Linked DNA regions of Homo sapiens: regions 1 and 3 are each linked to region 2. Evidence: promoter capture Hi-C in 16 types of primary human blood cells and fetal thymus (Javierre and others, 2016). All regions are on one chromosome and are shown on one strand. Each heading gives the region's core, a stretch centred on a gene start or on the middle of the fragment in contact. The rest is flanking DNA. Distances are from core to core; before and after follow the strand shown. Region 1 overlaps CCDC92 (coiled-coil domain containing 92). Region 2 holds the start of RAN (RAN, member RAS oncogene family). Region 3 holds the start of TRA-TGC3-2 (tRNA-Ala (anticodon TGC) 3-2).

What was found. The method cuts DNA at HindIII sites, captures the fragments that hold promoters and counts their contacts. A CHiCAGO score of 5 or more calls a contact.
Region 1: a contact is called between a fragment that was not itself captured here and the fragment with the promoter of RAN in region 2, in 1 of 17 cell types (total B cells). The highest score is 5.5, in total B cells.
Region 3: a fragment that was not itself captured here is called in contact with the fragment with the promoter of RAN in region 2 in 1 of 17 cell types (naive CD8 T cells); the score reaches 5.7 in naive CD8 T cells.

What each region holds. Positions count from the first base shown.
Region 1 is chr12:123,967,378-123,970,748 of GRCh38, forward strand. All of the region lies in intron 1 of CCDC92 (coiled-coil domain containing 92), which reads right to left. Among named protein-coding and RNA genes, the nearest start is that of CCDC92, 3.8 kb to the right of the region's middle. RefSeq lists an enhancer at 1,406-1,907. The HindIII fragment of the contact is 847 bases long and covers 1,009-1,855 here.
Region 2 is chr12:130,870,170-130,873,597 of GRCh38, forward strand. RAN (RAN, member RAS oncogene family) reads left to right here and starts at 1,897. Exons shown (of 7, transcript NM_006325.5): 1 at 1,897-1,957; 2 at 2,415-2,460; 3 at 2,667-2,751; 4 at 2,834-2,959. The coding sequence starts at 2,425. RefSeq lists enhancers at 937-1,698, 1,122-1,201, 1,699-2,460 and silencers at 1,482-1,941, 2,012-2,151, 2,202-2,411. The HindIII fragment of the contact is 6,850 bases long and covers 830-3,428 here.
Region 3 is chr12:124,919,411-124,922,942 of GRCh38, forward strand. TRA-TGC3-2 (tRNA-Ala (anticodon TGC) 3-2) reads right to left here and starts at 2,416; the gene lies at 2,345-2,416. RefSeq lists enhancers at 1,622-1,811, 1,647-2,325, 1,892-2,211 and a cis regulatory region at 1,867-2,037. The HindIII fragment of the contact is 6,001 bases long and covers 1-3,532 here.

The sequences.
Region 1 (3,371 bases), core at 182-2,681, 6.9 Mb before region 2:
ACTCCAACCTTTCTCCATCTTTCTTATCAATGTGCAAGATTTGGCTATTTTTAAAAAGTGTATCTGCTCTCCCACGCTACTAGCCACCGAGGCAGAAACACTAGCAGTGCCTTTCATCTGGGTTGATGTGTGTGACAGCCGAAGAGAAAGGAGTTACAAAAAGCCTCCTTCAATGTTTAAGGTATGGCACGAGCCTAACCTCTTACGTTCACTTATCATTAGAAAAATATGGAGAGCCTAAGATAATTATGCTATGTATGACAGAGATGGAACTTTCTCTTGGGAACCCAGTGTTTTTACGTGTCCTCTGCATTATATCGAAGATGATCTTTTCAGAGTATGATGCCACGGATTTCTAGGTAAAATGTGCAACTTTAAGAAAGACAGTATTGTAATAATATTGAGAATGACAATTTACATGTAGTGTTTAATGCTTAAACAATGTTACCTAAGAACATGGGCTTTAATGACTTCTCATAAACTCTCTTACCTGCATAGTAAATGAGAAGGGCACAGGATGCATTTAGAAATGGACTGGGGAGGAAATCTGAAGAGCAAAGGATAATGGATTTTATGCAGACCTAAATTTAGTATCTTAAGTGTTGCCAAAGAGGCAACAAAAAGAAAATTTGTAGAAGCAGAGTATTATGTGCCTCATATTCCATTTATTAAAAGTTTTCTTCTGTCGTTTTTTTCCCCTTTTTATAAGCAGCTTACTCAGGCTTGCTCTATTTGGTGCTAACCAATGGAAGTTCACTGCTCAGTCTTGAGAATTCAGCTAGAATAAAGAATTTCAGAAACAAGGAGAAAACTTACTCCTTCACAGAAGAGTAGACACTTCTTGCTTCGTAGTAAAGTTCTTTCTGATAAAGCAGTAAATTGGGAATAATCATGAAAGTATTGATCTCGGTCGGCTCTCCAGTGTGGAAATTTGCATGTAAACTGTTTTCTGATTAACAAAGAAGTCTTTAAAGATGTTTGTGTGATCCCTTCAGAAGTCATGGTTAAAGCTTTAAAGTGCAACCTTTAACCTTGAAAATGCTGCTTTCTAACTTGCCTTATTTGCTAATTTGTTGTCCTGGTAATAATATTTAAGTAGTATCTGTGATTTTTTTTCCTGAAAAAATAAACACTTTTAAAGTTTTATTTCTTGGTTGGCCAGAAAAACTTGATATTCGTCTCTTTTCCCTTCATGCATACAGCATAAATAAATGGTATATTCCTTGTTCAAAGTTTGAGGAGTCTTAGTCACTTATCACACCCAAAGTCAGCTAATGGGTAAGAGACACAAAAGCATGACACAAACTCATCTGCTACAGAATGAGAGAGAGTAACTATTTTAAAAGACATTTAAAAAGTGAAAAGCATGAGACAAACTCATCTGCTAGAGAACAAGACAGAGTAACTATTTTAAAAGACGTTTAAAAAGTTAAAAGCATGAAACAAACTCATCTGCTAGAGAACGAGAGAGTAACTACTTTAAAAGACATTTAAAAAGTTAAGTCCATGCAAACATTAATTCAGAATTGTTTTTTCCTCTTCTTCCTAAAATGGAGAGGTCAGATCTTGGTTTAACTCAATCGGCCTCATTACTGACTTGCTGCACTTCAATCCTTGTGTATTGGGCACTCTGGTGTTCACAGGCAACTCTGCTCTGCTTCTTAGCCACAGACTGGAGTCCCCACCTCATTGACCCACTTAATACATGTATTAGATTGACACTCAGTAGCCGAATCTTTATTATAATAGATAAATCCTTATTCCCATTGCTGATAAAACCATCATTCTCAAGATTGGTTTCATACAAATAGGGCACATGTCTTTCTTCTTCAAACACAAAGCTCCAATTCCCCTAAGCTTTTCGGCTTGCTGTAATTCTACTTCTTGGCTTTGTTTTACCTTCAGCTGCCAGCATATTTTAAAAACCATGCAGACATACTGAAAAAACATCCAATGCAACTTAATGTAGGTGGATATGACTGGACTTTTTGCTGTGAAACTTGAGTCATGTTTGAGTAATGAAATAAACAAACTAAAATGCGGAGCAAGCACAAGAATCATCTCTTATATCATCTCTTATTCAGTTTTTTTTTTTTTTTTTTTTTTTTTTGAGACGGAGTCTCCATCTGTTGCCAGGCTGGAGTGCAGTGGCGTGATCTGGGCTCACTGCAACCTCTGCCTCCTGGGTTCAAGCGATTCTCCTGCCTCAGCCTCCCGAGTAGCTGGGACTACTGCGCCACCACGACCAGCTAATTTTTGTATTTTTAGTAGAGATGGGGTTTCACCATGTTGCTCAGGATGGTCTTGATCTCTTGACCTCGTGATCTGCCCGCCTCGGCCTCAGGAGTGAGCCACTGCCCCCGGCCTTATTCAGTATCTTTTAAAACATGTTTTCAGCCAAGTAAAAGAACGATTCACCTTCATAATTTGCTGGCTCTCCAAAGGATGACTGGCACCATCCCATTTTTTAAAAACAGCTTTAAAAAAAGTCTTTTCTGCTTGCCTTCCTAGAAAAGGGTAATTTTCCTCTTGATTCAATGTTTATTGTAGAAAATAAAGTTAAAGAAAGAAATACAAATCATGTATAATTAAAAAGAGTCTTTTAAAACACATTGAATTCGAGAGTGCTTTATTCCCTGTAATGTGCCATACAAATGCAAAGCACGACTAAGAATCATCTTCGATAGCAGGTGGGTCTTTAATCTACTAAAAAATCTTCCTAGGGTTCATGTAGGTGTCTGCGGATGTTGCTACGTCCACAACTCTAGAAGCCAGCATAAGAAAACAAAAAACAAAAGCCACAGTGCTAAAAGGGAAGTACAGAAGTCCTCGAATATAGTTGCCATCGGAATACCCAGGAGTCCCTCTCAGAAAGACCCTCCTATACCTCTGTGATACCTCCTAATAGCCATTCACGCCAAGTGGGGAACCAGCTGATCCCAAAAGCCCCTAGGGAAGGAGCAGCCCCTTCTTTCCACCGCTAGTTCTCACCATAAACAACTTTTGCCTTCATATAGAAGTGAAATCTGTTTTTCTGTACTCAATAATTACTCAAAATAAATGAAATCCCTTGCTGCATGACAGACCTTCAAATATTTGAAGACAATTAGGACACAGCCACTTCCGTGCCCAAATCCTTCTGCAGGTTGAAACATCAAAGCTGAAGATGTGGAAACTGGTGTCATTAAGTTAGCACCTACCTAGCCGGGATGAAACTTCAATCTGACTCAAACATTTACTGCAACATTGGTGTGTGAAGATACAAAGTCACCTAGTCACTGCCCTTGAAGGACATGGAATTCAGTAAATTCAGTAGATATAATTAATCTTAGTTACCAAATGTGTGCCCACTATGTATTAGAAACTATTTA
Region 2 (3,428 bases), core at 647-3,146:
TATGGTATATAGATCCTTGCAGTCAATTAAAAAAAACAACAAAATACATATATCCAATAGCCAATATGCTTTTGTTTTATGTGTATTTGTAAAAAATATACATAAATGACATTATACTATATATATAATCCCTCTAGATAAAGTTACATATAGTGTTAGGTTTTATGTATTAATTTTTGAAAACAGGGTCTTGCTCTGTCTCCCAGGCTGGAGTGCAATGGTGAGATCATTGCCCATTGCAGCCTGTAACTCCTGGGTTTAAGGGATCCTCCTACCTCGGACTCCCAAAGTGCTGGGATTACAGGTGGCCTAGACTTTATAAAGCTGTTATCACCTCTTTCTTCTTTTCTCAACACTATCCTTTTGACATCTATCTAACCCTGTTGAAACAGATGACCGTCATTCCTTTTAAATGTTATACAGTATTAAATGTTGTGCACATGCGTGAGGCATGAGTTTAACTCTGGGGCCTCTCCCTAGAAATGGAAATCCGGGGTCACAAGCAATGGGCATTCCCGTTTTACTGTTAGATTCTGCTCTCCCGCCAGCAGCGTCTGAGAGGTGCTTGGGGTTCCCCTGAGGGTTCTGGGGGAGCTCGGACTTGCGTTCCCAGCAGGCCGGTTGTCGCCTGCTTTGTGCCTAATTTGCGTCACTGGGGTTCCTAGCGGACTCGCCTGCAAGTGTGCTCAGGACTGCAGGGAGGACTCTTCGGTCACTGCGGCTCTCTCCCCATGGTGGACTCTTCTGAGGCGCTTGACTGCGCTGATTTGGGCCTTTATCTGTCTGCATGTCGGCAGGGGCGCCCAGGAAGTCGGGTCCCTCTAGCTCAAGCTTGTTTGGGCTCTTACAGCTTCAGGCCAACAGGGGGCTGGGAAGCTGAGCACTTACTCATTCCGTCCCCGTTGGTAACTAGGGCTGGTAGACGCGTCCAGACTGCAAACAGTATTTCATCATTTTGTCTGTAGCATGCAGCGGCCAAAGCTGCCAACCTATGAAACGCTTTGAGAAGCCGGACGCTTTGGGAGGCCGAGGCGGGTGGATCCCCTGAGGCCAGCCTGGGAGACATAGTTAGATTCTGTCTCTCAAAAAAATTTTTAAAAAATTACCCCTGATGTGGTGCGCGCCTGTAGTCCCAGCTACTCGGGAGGCTGAGGCGGGAGGATCGCCCGAGCCTGAGAGTTCGAGACCAGCCTGGGCAACGTAGCGAGACTCCGTCTCTTAAAAAAAATAAGTAGCCGTTTTTCTGGGTGGGTGCATCCCTCTCTGGTTCCTCGCTCTCCAACTGGCCCTGGTCCTGGGGGCGTGAAGGCTACGATCTGGAGAGACAGAACAGCGGGCTGCCTCTGGAGGACGGGCCTAGACCCCATTCATTCATTCATTCGTTCTGTCACCCACCCGTCCTGCGCGCACGCGAGCCACCCTAAGCCCCAGGACCTCAAGAACCCCCACCCCACGGGGCACAGACAAGGACAGGCTGGCCAGCGCCTGGAAGCCGCGTGCCTGACCACGTCTGCCCGAGCGAGTACCGCCTCCCACCCGGGAGGCAGGAGAGCCGCGACCGTCGGGCCGCGCCCAACGTCTCCCGCTCAGGGGCGCGCCGCCTCGCTTTCAGCGCATGCGCGCCCGGGAGCCCGCCCGGGGCGTCGGCGCACGCGGTCCCCACCGGCCGGCTTGCGTACGCGCTCCCGGCTCGCCCTCCCACGCGGTCCACCGCGCCTCCCGCCCCACCCTAAGCGCAGCGACCGCCCGAGCGGCCGACCGAACCGCGTTGCGTGCGTGCGCGCACGCGCGGGCCACGTGGGCGGGCGCCGCGCCGTTGCCCCGCCCCTTGCAACCCCGCCCCGCGCCGGCCCCGCCCCTGCTCTCGCGCCGGCGTCGGCTGCGTCTCCGGCGTTTGAATTGCGCTTCCGCCATCTTTCCAGCCTCAGTCGGACGGGCGCGGAGACGCTTCTGGAAGGTATCGCGACCCGGCGGGCCCGGCACGGCCGGGCGGGGACAGGGGTGGCGGCGGCGGGATAGGGGTCGGAGCCGGGGCCAGGGCCGGGGCGGGTGGCGGACCCAGGGGCAGCGGGCGGCTGAGTAGGTGGGTGGTGCGGGCCCGGCCGGGCCGGGGCAGGAGACGGGCGTGGGGTCGGCGCTAGCCCCCGCGAACCCCCGTTTCATCCTCCGCTCTCATCCCCGTCCCGGTCCCAGTCCCGTTCCCATCCCTACACCTCCGGCCGCCGTTCCCCGGGCCCCGCCGCCCCGGATGCCGGCCCCGCCCGCCGCCTTCCCGCTCCCAGGCCTGGCCGCCATGGCGCCGCGGGCGGGAGGCCTTTGTGGGGCGGGCACGTGGGGCGCTGGGGGCGCGGGAGCGGGGCCGCCATGGGCTGCGGGGCCGCGCGAGCGCTCGCCTCCGTCCTCTGCCTCCGCAGGAACGCCGCGATGGCTGCGCAGGGAGAGCCCCAGGTCCAGTTCAAAGTAGGTAACCCTGCGGGGCGGGAGGCGGCCGAGCCCGACCGCGTGCGACTCGCGGGTCCCTCCTCCTGGGGCCACGATGGCTGTAATGGGGCCCCGCATCCACATTCTTTGTTTTAAGTGAGCCTGTGGTGGTTAAAGTTCCGTGACTCTGGGATCTTGAGAGGTGAAGTGTTTAGGGTTTACTTCCAAAATGTGTTTTTCAACAGCTTGTATTGGTTGGTGATGGTGGTACTGGAAAAACGACCTTCGTGAAACGTCATTTGACTGGTGAATTTGAGAAGAAGTATGTAGGTATGTGCTGGAAAACCTTGCTTGTGGAAATATGTGAGAAATGGGTAAGTTCATCCACTCAATCGCATCGTTTCCGTTTCAGCCACCTTGGGTGTTGAGGTTCATCCCCTAGTGTTCCACACCAACAGAGGACCTATTAAGTTCAATGTATGGGACACAGCCGGCCAGGAGAAATTCGGTGGACTGAGAGATGGCTATTATATCCAAGGTAGGCATTTGTAACTTGCTGAACGGTTTTTGAGAGGTTTTGTGTACTTCAGTCTTCAAGGTTATAGAAAATCAGGTCTGTTCCAACAAATAGTGTCATTTTTGGGTTAAAAAAAGACAAGTGGACTTCGGGGAGTTGACCACCATTTTGGTGGCAGAGAAAATTTTATTAAAGTTGTGTCATTTGCATGCTGTGTCATGCTAGGCATGCTTTAGAAAAAACTATGACTTACACTGGGACTTATAAGTCATATTTAAAACAATAATAGGCTGTTAACAGCAGTTTCAGTATTTGGAAACTTAGGTTCATGTATGTATTTTGGTGTGGTGATCAATGAATGTTTTTACTGTATTAGAAAACAATAAACACCAGATACTAGACCAGAGGAGATAGGAGATCTTAACAAGTGTTATACAAGACTAGCTGATTTCTTGTTAAATTGTTTGTACTAAGTTGTGCAGAGTATTTT
Region 3 (3,532 bases), core at 533-3,032, 6.0 Mb before region 2:
CTCGCGTCTAACCTCCAAACTGTCTTTGTTCATTCCTAGGTGTAGGCTGAACTGACTTTGGAGGAGCTTAGTTTATAGTTTAATTCTGAAACAAAGGTGATAGCCTTTTCCTAAAACAAGCCCCCTTCCTGCCTGCGCACTAGACTGCTTTGCAGGACTAACAAATTGGCCACAAGATTACAAATTATGGTTTAGGAGTCACGCAGCTGGAGACTGCAAGATTCTGTCCATGCTGAAATTGCTCCTGAGGATAACATCACTATTGTAAAACCTAAGACCAGTGCTTGAGATATTTTGCATACTCTGCACTCAGTGGGCCGACTGACACCACCCAGATTGATAAACTGGCTCATCTGGTCTTGTGGCCCCCACCTAGGAACTGACTCAGGGCAAAGGGACAGCTTCGACTCCCTGTGATTTCATCTCCGACCCAACCAATCAGTACTCCCGATTTCCCGACCTCCCTACACACCAAATTATCCTTCAAAACTCCAATCCCTGAGTTTTCAGGGAGACTGATTTGAGTAATAGTAAAACTCCCGTCTCCCACACTGCCAGCTGTGTGTGAATTAAACGTTCTCTATTATGGCAGGGCGAGGTGGCTTGCGCCTGTAATCCCAGCACTTCGGGAGGCTGAGGTGGGCGGATCACAGTTTCCCTGTCCTAATAAATGGGCTCTGTCTAGGCAGCGGGCAAGGAGAAACTGTTGGGCAGTTACAGAAGCATGTAAGTTTTGTGTTAGGCCTGATGACTTCAGAAATTATCTTCAATGATTTTCCCCTAAAACCTTGTTGACATTTAGGGAGAAATAACCTTTCCTGAAGCTCATTAGAAACAAGCTGTCACCAATGCGTCACCACCTAACTGGTGAGTCAGTTCGCAAGTTTCATTTTCTTCATCTCAAAAATGAAAGCTCTAGATCTAGGATTAGACGCTTTTACCATTTAAAACATGAAGTCAAGTCAAATGAAAGAAAGGGGCTGACAGGTGAGGAATTCATTATAATTGCAAAGAACTGTACCACAGAATGCAGCCGAATCCCTTCTTTCATTCTTATTATTATTTAGAGAGCTGGGAACTGGTTAAACTTTAAAAAATATAATTTATTTTTATGTATTTATTTTTGCCTAAAGATCATTCATGCAAGTAAATCAATCTCCCCTCCCCTCCCCTTCCCCTTTCCCTCCCCTTCCCCTTCCTTTCCTTTCCTTTCCTTTCCGAGCCAAGGTCTCCCTTTGTTGCCCAGGCTGCTTTCAAACTCCTGGCCTCAAGCAATTCTCCTGCCTCATGCCTCCCAAAGTGCTGGGATTACAGGCCTGAGCCACCATCTTTTGCTTTCAGTGATAAAACACAGAAACACAGTGGAGGTGAAAGCAACTCCATCTTGGTTGCTAATCCACCAAGATAACTTCCGATTAATGCCTCTTCCAGGAAGGTCTCTAAGATTTCTACTTTACTGTTACCATAAATTCTGCCCTTAGATCAGAACAACCTAGATCATAAATCCTTCCCTTATGCGGATTCACATAACATTCTTGCCTTGCTTGAGGGGTCAACTTCAATTGTCCTACATATATTCCTTCCCTATGGTATGGAAGCCCTGGGCCGGGGGTTATGGCGCAGCAAACCTTATATCCTCTGATGACCACCCTGAGACTATGGCTTCTGTTGGTAAGTCCCTAATAAATGTTTTTTCCTGAGAAACTGGGTTTGTCAACCCCTTTCTTTGGCCTCTCAGCTCCCTTGGCCTTTGGGGTAGGTTTGCATAGGCCTGCTCACCCCGGAACACAGTGTATGAATATAAATGTAAATTGCACTTGCATTACAGCCGTGGAGACGTGTTGCTGAGGAAGCAGAGAGCAAAGCCCCGCTGGGATGTGAGTTTGCTTCTGGGTTCCTCCCATGCAAATGAGGTGGTTCGTGGCAGTGCAGAGGAGGAGTGAGATGGCAAACAGGGGGGCCCAGACCTTCCAGCAACTTACACACTTGCCCTCTGATGGCCAAGAATGCGTCAACAGCCCTCGAGGCCAGTGCAGTACAATCATGGTGGCACGAGATGTGGTGTACACTCCCCAAATGATCATCCTGCTCACTTTTGCTGTGGTTTCAGTCATCAAGTCAGGTTTTGCCTTAACACTTTTCTGCTGATTACTCCCATCAGCCTCTTCTAACTCATGTGCATTTGAAACATTAGAGATTTCAGAATGGGAAGATCACACCTGGTGTGAGAATCTGAGCTCCAAGTAGTGCCTGGAATCACAATGCTTATGATAATCACATCCATGGCACTTTAATGATAAAGAACCACGGACCAAAACGAATACAGAAAGCAACAAAACTACAATGGAGATGCCGGGGATCGAACCCGGGGCCTCATACATGCAAAGCATGCGCTCTACCACTGAGCTACATCCCCCTCCCTTTCCTGTACTTGCTTTTGGAAGTCCTTGCTATACTCTATTCTTAAAGGCGTTTTTCCTGTTTCCACGTGTTTCATTTTTATTTTTGGTTTTTATTATTGTTTGGACGCATAACAATTGTGCACATTTATGAGGTGTGGTGTGATGTTGTGATCTATGTACACAATTTGTAATGTTCAAATCAGGGCAATGACCACATCCATCCCTTCAAACATGTATCATTTCTCTGTGCTGGGAGACATTAAAAATCCACGCTTCCAGCTATTTGAAAACGTACAATAAGTTGTTGTATTCACTCTATAGGGACACTGGAACTTATTCCTCCTATTCAGCTGTACTTTTGTATCCAGTAACCCCCCTTTGGCTATCCCACCTCCCCCCACCTTCACTACCTGCAGTAACCACTATTCTCTCTGTGAGACCAACTATTTCAGCTTCCGCACGTGAGTGAGATCATGCAGTATTTATCTTTCTGTGCCCGGTTTATTTCACTTTATGTAATGTCGCCCAAACTTAGCCATGTTTTTATTTTTGTTTCGTAGAGGAAAAATGACAGGATTTCATTTTGTTTTGTATTTTTTTAAGGTCGAATAGTATTCTATTGCGTATGTACACATTTTCTCTATCCATGTATCTGTTGACGGACACATCTAGGCACTTATGAATAAAGCTGCAATACACACGGGAGTGCGAGAGGCTTTTAGTTTTTGGTTGGTTGGTTTGTTTTGAGACAGAGTTTTGCTCTGTCGCCCAGGCTGGAGTGCAGTGGCATGATCTGGGCTCACTGCAACCTCCGCCTCCTGGGTTCAAGCGATTCTCCTGCCTCAGCCTCCCGAGTAGCTGGGACTACAGGCGTGCACCACCACGCCTGCTAATTTCTGTATTTTTAGTAGAGATGGGGGGGGGTTCAGCATGTTGGCCAGGCTGGTCTCGAACTCCTGACCTCAGGTGATCTGCACCCCTTGGCCTCCCAAAGTGCTGGGATTACAGGCGTGAGCCACTGCGCCCAGCCAAGGATATTTTCTAAATTAAACTTTTGTGTGTTTAAGTGAGTGTTAGAGTTTAGCAAAACCACCACAACAACAAAAAATTGTTTTATGTTTCCCAAGTAG